Linked DNA regions of Homo sapiens: region 2 is linked to region 1. The links are contacts of gene promoters, found by promoter capture Hi-C in blood cells and fetal thymus (Javierre and others, 2016). All regions are on one chromosome and are shown on one strand. The core of a region is centred on a gene start or on the middle of the fragment in contact, and the rest is flanking DNA. Distances in the headings are between cores, read along the strand shown. Region 1 holds the start of TMEM179B (transmembrane protein 179B). Region 2 holds the start of LAMTOR1 (late endosomal/lysosomal adaptor, MAPK and MTOR activator 1).

Region 1 (3,711 bases), core at 617-3,116:
TTCTTTTTTTTTTTTTTGAGACGGAGTCTCACTTTGCTTCCCAGGGTGGAGTGCGGTGGTGTGATCTCGGCTCACTGCAACCTCTGCCCCCCGAGTTCAAGTGATTCTCCTGCCTCAGCCTCCCAAGTAGTTGAGATTACAGGCAACTGCTACTGCGCCCAGCTAATTTTTGTATTTTTAGTAGAGATGGGGTTTCACCATCTTGGCCAAGCTGGTCTTGAACTCCTGACCTCAGGTGATCCACTGGCCTCGGCCTCCCAAAGTGCTGGGATTACAGGCGTGAGCCACAGCGCCTGTCCAATCACAGGATTTTAAATTGTATAATCAGAGTCCAAGTCTCTGGTTGGTTGTTTTTATGCAGATTGTTTGAACTGAGTCTCAGTTTACATCTAAGTGAAGCCAGTACTTGCCTGATTGTATAGGGTAGCAGTATGCAAACTAAATTTTGGAGTTGTCAGTAATGAGCATTATTTAGCACACAGGGCAGTGATATTGGGTATATTTTTTATTGTCTCCCTTTGTACCTTATCTTTATTCCCAATGCCTAGCTTAGGTATACAGTAGGTTCCAAATAAATATATGGTTGAATATGCCAATCAGGGAATTTAGGAGGATTGAGCCCTGTCTAGGATCAGAGATAAAGGTAGGTCTTTCATGGGAAAGGGTCCTTGAGAGGGAATAAGTATCAAAGACATGCTAACTGTATTCCTTCTCTTCCTTCCAGGCAGTAGAACGAGTCCTGTACCCACACCTGTCCACCTACTGGACAAACTTGCAGGCTGTGCTGGATGATTATTCAGTATCTAATGCCCAGGTCAAAGCAGATGGACACAAAGTCTATGGAGCCATTCTGGTGAGTACCGTCCCCTTCCAGCCTCCCTTCCCTGCATGAGCTTAGCAGCCAAGCAGGCTTACTTTGGAATATTTGATGGGCCCAGGTTCCTCGAATTTTTTGCCTATCTTAGTCCTTGGCTCTTACAGGTGGCGGTAGAGCGACTGCTGAAGATGAAGGCCCAGGCAGCAGAGCCCAACAGGGGTGGCCCAGGTGGCAGGGGGTGCCGGCGCCTGGACGACCTGCCATGGGACAGCCTTCTCTTTCAAGAGTCGTCCTCCGGGGGCGGTGCAGAACCCAGCTTTGGGTCCGGCCTCCCGCTGCCGCCAGGGGGCGCGGGGCCGGAGGACCCTTCTCTTTCGGTGACCCTGGCCGACATCTACCGGGAGCTCTACGCCTTCTTCGGTGACAGCTTGGCCACACGCTTTGGCACCGGCCAGCCTGCACCCACGGCTCCGCGGCCGCCCGGGGACAAGAAGGAGCCGGCGGCAGCCCCGGACTCGGTGCGGAAGATGCCGCAGCTGACGGCAAGCGCCATAGTCAGCCCGCACGGCGACGAGAGCCCCCGGGGCAGCGGCGGAGGCGGCCCCGCGTCGGCCTCTGGGCCCGCCGCCTCTGAGAGCAGGCCCTTGCCGCGCGTGCATCGGGCGCGCGGGGCACCCCGGCAGCAGGGCCCCGGGACCGGCACCCGCGACGTTTTCCAGAAGAGCCGTTTCGCCCCGCGCGGCGCCCCGCACTTTCGTTTCATCATAGCCGGGCGGCAGGCTGGGAGGCGCTGCCGCGGGCGCCTTTTCCAGACTGCCTTCCCCGCGCCGTACGGGCCTAGCCCGGCCTCGCGCTACGTGCAGAAACTGCCCATGATCGGCCGTACCAGCCGCCCCGCCCGCCGGTGGGCGCTCTCGGACTACTCGCTGTACTTGCCGCTCTGAGTCAGTGGCCCCTTCGTTCCTTGTAAATAAATCCCGCCCCCGGAAATGACGTCTCCACCTTCGTGGGTCGCGCCGGATAAGGTGGGCTTTGGGCGGGGTGCTGCTGCAGCGGCGCTTCCTGGTGGTCAGGGCGCCATGGCGCTGTCCTGGCTGCAGCGCGTCGAGCTTGCGCTCTTTGCTGCCGCCTTCCTGTGCGGGGCCGTGGCGGCCGCGGCGATGACTCGGACCCAGGTGCGGCTGCGGGGCGGGGTCAGGTAGGCGGGGGAGCTGGCCGGTCTGGACATGGCGAGGCCACTTTCGCTTTCCGACCGGGCTTGCTGCTGCTCGGAGCCGGTGGACCTGGTGAGGCACGGCTGGCGCCGGCCTGTACCTGAAATGCAGCGAGGCTAATCGCGCTTTGTGGCTCCTCCTGGCCAGGTCATACTTCGAAGTTGTCCCCTCGCCAAAGGGACGGGTCAGTAGCGTCTTAAAGCACTAGGTGGAGTCGGGTTTCGTGGCTCCTGCTGCACAGCCTTACTGTGGTTCCGAAACAGAAGTCAGTGCAGAACCTGCGTCCATCCGTTAAATCAGAAGCCATTTGTGCTGAGCTTTGTCGAGAAATAAAGCATAGTGTAGTGGAGATGATCAAGCTGCCACATGATTGTAGCACAGTGTGTTAAATGACAAAATGAGAGATGGAGAAAACGCTGACGTAAAGGTAGAAGCCAATAATTTACATCGTTTACCCCAGCCAGGTAATCTGGTTAATAAACATGGGTTCATTTAATGCCTATAAAGTAGGCACTAGTGTGCCTATTTTACACCATGAGAAAACCTCAGAGATCCGCCGGGCGCGGTGACTCACGCCTGTAATCCCAGCACTTTGGGAGGCTGAGGCAGGCGGATCACTTGAGGTCAGGAGTTCGAGACCAGCCTGGCCAACATGGCAAAACTCTGTCTCTACTAAAAATACAAAAATTAGCCGGGTGTGGTGGCTCATGCCTGTAATCCCAGCTACTTCGGAGGCTGAGGCAGGAGAATCGCTTGAACCTGGGAGGCGGAGGTTGCAGTGAGTCGAGATCGTGCCATTGCACTCCAGCCTGGGTGACGAGCGAATCTCCATCGCAAAAACAAAAACAAAAACACTGGCCGGGCCTGGTGGCTCACGCCTGTAATCCCAGCACTTTGGGAGGCCGTGGCAGGCGGATCACGAGGTCAGGAGATCAAGACCATCCTGGCCAACACGGTGAAACCCTGTCTCTACTAAAAATACAAACAATTAGCCAGGCATGGTGGCGGGTGCCTGTAGTCCCAGCTACTCAGGAGGCTGAGGCAGGAGAATGGCATGAACCCAGAAGGCAGAGCGTGCAGTGAGCCGAGATGGCGCCACTGCACTCCAGCAAAAAAAAAAAAAAAAAGCACCTCACAGATAGTTATTTGTTGAAGGATATACAAGGCCTGGGTTTACTCTAAGGTTTCTGCACAGAGACCATAACTTGTGAGGCTTCTCTGAAGCTCATTGCATTCTATATTCATTGCCTATTTTCTGATCCTTCTGGCCACTGCCGGTGTGATTCCCCAGCAGGCCCTCTCCATCAATATCCCTGTCCCAGAAATAGGAATTGACGGTGCACAAATAACTTCCTGGAATGCAGGACCATTCCTAAGTTATCACTAACACCCTACCAAGAGACTGTATCTAGAGACATTAACCTGAAATCTAGGACTCAGCAGCTTCTCTCCACAGGGCTCCTTCAGTGGTAGATGTCCCCTGTATGGTGTGGCCACCCTGAATGGCTCCTCCCTGGCCTTATCCCGTCCCTCAGCACCATCCCTGTGCTACTTTGTAGCTGGGGCCTCTGGCCTCTTGGCCCTCTACTGCCTCCTGCTTTTGCTCTTCTGGATCTACAGCAGCTGCATCGAGGACTCCCACAGGTGACTGCCTAACCCTGAGGGCCAGGGGCTGAGGTA
Region 2 (3,711 bases), core at 497-2,996, 9.3 Mb after region 1:
GAGTCAAATTAGATAACTGTGAAGGCCCTTTGTAAACTGTAACGTGTTGTATATTTTTTATTATGATAAAGAGACAGAGATGAGAGTCGGAGAGGGGCCTGCCCAAGAACTCAAAGAGGGACTGTGGGATGGTGGATGGTTATGGCCCTTGCTACATGAGGCCTCAAATCACCCAGCAGTGATTAAGCACCTTCTCTGGGTGTTAGGAACAGAAATGAGAGCCCCCCAAGGAGAAGGTAGAGATTCAGGAGAGCAGCAGGCCCAGCTCTCCCTTCCAAGTAGAAGCTTGTATCCTTTCTCATACGGCATTAATCCTTCTTGACTCATTCCCTGCAAGAGTCCATATTATGCTTTAAGGGACAATTTCCCACTAGGCTACAGCTCTCCCAGTAGGCAGGGTTATTGTTGTCTCTTTCTCAAAAAGGTGGAAGTGAAGTGAGAGGTATTAGGCACAACACATGCCTAACACAGGGCAAAGGAAATATGTGTTCATTGGGTGTATGGAGAATTGAGAACCAGAAGCCACCCTTGCTTCCCATACAAACGACATTTTCCTAGGCTTAAGCCCTTAATCCAAAATACGTTCACTGAAGAACGAACTACTTCCCAAGTACCAGTGATATAATCTATTTTTGTGACCATCTTCCCCATTAGACCGTGAGCTACCTGAAACCTTTCTACTCTCTCAGGTCTACTATATGTTCAAATGTAGAATCCGGGCTTAGAGACGATCAAAAAAGGAGAGTAGACAGCAACTTGAGACTTCATCCTTGAATGTCAGGCCAGGCAGGGCAGGGATTAGAGTGTGGGGAGAAGTGAGAATGCACTAAGAGGAAGAGGGAGAATTTAAAACTGTACAGGTCTCCCCAGCCTAACCCTTTCTCCAAAGGTATCAGATCTACAGCCAAATTCTCAGAATAGGCATGTCTCCAGCTAAAGGAACCCTCAGGCCCCAGGCAGACTGCACTGAGGCAAGCCAAACTCAGAACCAAATGAACTTCCCGCTCCATTTCTCTTTTCCCACAATCTAGCCAAAGCTAAATCCTCTTTGTTGCTTCCCAGACAATTTCCCACATGTCCCGATGTCCTCACTGTATCGATTAAATCCTTCATTGGCCAATTCAAAGGCCACCAACTTCCAGAGTCGTCCCCTGGCCCTAGACTAGCAGCGACCTTCCTTCTGCAACCCCAGGGACTAAGACGATACACGAATTCCTGATTCATCTCAGGACAGACTAACTCAGGGCCTCAGCTTACCCACCCCTAAAATGGATTCGCAAAGCCCACTAATACACAGAAGACACAGGAAGCTGGGGAAGGGAGTGTTTCCCGGGGACCTAGACTGAGGATCCTTGAATCTGAAAAGTTTTGAAGGTAGGAGCAAACGGAAGTGGTGGGAGCGAGCCGGACAGGCGGCTGCCTGCACACCCCGAGGCGGGGACTGTGTAGAAATCTGGGGCTTTAACAGGGGTAGGAGCCCGGCTTGGCGTCTCCTCTGTAATCTGTCCCCTCCAGGCCTCCGTATTCAGTGAGCCCTGCAGTCCGGCTGCCCGTCCTCCGCAGGTTTCTTTCTGGGCCCCATGCCCCAGTGTCTTAGCCCTCATTCCCGAGCCCCGCCTGCCGCGGCCGCACCTGGTCCGAGTCCTCGTTCTCGCTGCTGTAGCAGCACCCCATGGCCGGGGTCGGGCCGGGCGCTCAGGCCGCGCCGAGGAGGGACGGCGTCCGTGAGGAGCCCTTCCGGTCACATGACCCGCGGCGGCCTCCCGCAGGCAACCACCCGCCCCCACCCCCCGTACCCCCTGTCCCGGAGCCGCTTGGCCGCCTCAGTCAATACCCCGGCTTCCGGTCCCGCCCGCTAGCGCGTGATCGTTGTCAACCAATGGGAAGGCGTAACCGTACACGCAAGCACGTGATGCGGGGAAAGGGCGGGGCGGATCACATGACTTCATCTTTCCAGTCTCTAAACTGGCAGTAGTGGCCATCGTGAATTGTGTTATGCGTTCTCGTGGCCACTAGGCCACTTTTCTGGGCCATTGAGCGAACTCGTACCAAATGCCCTCGTATGCCCTTGTGATATACTCTTCTAAATGCCATGCGAGGGGCGACTGGGATCCAGGCCTGATGCTCCAGATCGTACGGTCTGGGTGCACACACACAGATGATCCAGATGACCAGTACCTAGTCGGGGAACACAGAGGGTGTATCGCCCAGCTGGGCTGGGGGTGAATACACAGAGGGTGTATTCTCCACCTGGGCTGGGGATCTGCGACTTACAGGAAGAAGGGACCTTATACTACCTTCACATGCTGACGCGCAGCGGAGATAAATCCTGGTAGAGGAGATAGAAGCCACCTCACTGACCTCTCTGCTTTCAGGCTTTTATCTTTAATTCTGCCTTTTTTAACAGCACCCATTGTAATCGAACGCACAAAGCTGACCATCAGTTCTCTTTTCCTAACCCCCGCTCCATGTCTTCCCTTGGGCCCTGAACACAGGTCCAAGTCCGTCCAAGATTGTATAGTGATCCATTTGTTGTTCATGAGCGTGTGATTGGGTGTTCACCAGCATGTATCAAATGTGCCACCCTCAAATCTTGTTTTGGCACATTACCCGTCTGACATAACAAGAGCCTGACACCTCTCCCACTGCATGTTCTGGGGTGAGGGGTGGAGGGGTCAGCAATGTGTTTCACTGGACATAGAGAAATAATGTAGTTTCCTGATTGATCTACTGGACTTTGTACATGCAGCCTGGTCTGCCTACTGTCTTTACTGTCTTCGAGACTCAGTACAATGTCCTCCTGATTACCTTCTCTGACTCCATTCTCTGGACATGCCCAGCTCCCTATGCTTAATCCTCATCCAGTGTTAATTCATGCATTTATTGAATCAACAAATATTTGCTGAGCGTCTACTATGTGCCACACATTGTTATATCTGGATATGCAGCAGTTCACAAAACAGCCAAAGTCCCTGTAGTCATGGAACATCCAATAGTGATCACACTATATTGTATTCTCTGTTCCTGGGTCAGTCTCACCTACCAAACTTGGGAGTTCCTGGAGCACAGTGACAGGTTCTGACTCTTCCCTGTAGCCCAAGGCATGGCCTTGCTTACAGAAAACTTGCATATCAATGAGCATGTTACAGTCACCCCATCACCTTGGCTCACCCCATGCCCCATCTTCTGATCCAAAGTATTGGAGAAGTCACCAGATCTCATACCTCTTATAACCCCTCAAATCAAGACCCTGAGGTTCTGTAAATCTTTTGAGGTTCCTGAAGGGTAGGAGGCAGCTCAAGCTCGTCCCTGGGGCTGGTAACTTGAACTGCAGGTCTCAGGTGACAGCAGCAGCCTCAGCATGAATAATTGAAAGCCATTCCAGCCTCCTACCTCAGGGTTATCCCCCGCAGCAGGCCCTGGACTCCCCGACCTGTCCTGTGCTCTGGTCCTCCAGCCCAGGTAAGCAGGGCCCTGGATTGTGGGTTCCCAAGCTCACCAGTTCAAGCCCACCGCATCACTCACCTATTCACACCCATCCATACACTCTTTCATTTTTACTCCCCGCCATCACCAGGGGCCTTGCAAGAAGGCCGGCAAGGAGGTCAGATCTGGATGAGGAGGAGAATGGTCCAGGACATGGGAGGAGAGGCCCATTCCCCATAGGTCCCTGGAGAGAAGAGCTGAGTAGAGGGAAAATGTGTGCTGTGT

The links. Contacts are between HindIII fragments. The CHiCAGO score rates a contact against its expected background, and 5 or more counts as called.
Region 2: a contact is called between the fragment with the promoter of LAMTOR1 here and the fragment with the promoter of TMEM179B in region 1, in 1 of 17 cell types (neutrophils). The highest score is 5.0, in neutrophils.

What each region holds. Positions count from the first base shown.
Region 1 is chr11:62,785,536-62,789,246 of GRCh38, forward strand. TMEM179B (transmembrane protein 179B) reads left to right here and starts at 1,867. Exons shown (of 5, transcript NM_199337.3): 1 at 1,867-1,992; 2 at 3,488-3,675. The coding sequence starts at 1,897. It overlaps TAF6L (TATA-box binding protein associated factor 6 like), which reads left to right. Exons shown (of 11, transcript NM_006473.4): 10 at 725-853; 11 at 982-1,807. The coding sequence ends at 1,761. It also overlaps a transcript of TMEM223 not described here. RefSeq lists an enhancer at 938-1,137 and a silencer at 1,388-1,497. The HindIII fragment of the contact is 7,473 bases long and covers 1-3,711 here.
Region 2 is chr11:72,101,551-72,105,261 of GRCh38, forward strand. LAMTOR1 (late endosomal/lysosomal adaptor, MAPK and MTOR activator 1) reads right to left here and starts at 1,747. Exons shown (of 5, transcript NM_017907.3): 1 at 1,633-1,747. The coding sequence starts at 1,674. LRTOMT (leucine rich transmembrane and O-methyltransferase domain containing) reads left to right here. Exons shown (of 9, transcript NM_001145310.4): 6 at 3,414-3,462. It also overlaps the pseudogene LOC124902837. RefSeq lists enhancers at 1,453-1,532, 2,313-2,833 and a silencer at 1,633-1,902. The HindIII fragment of the contact is 8,877 bases long and covers 284-3,711 here.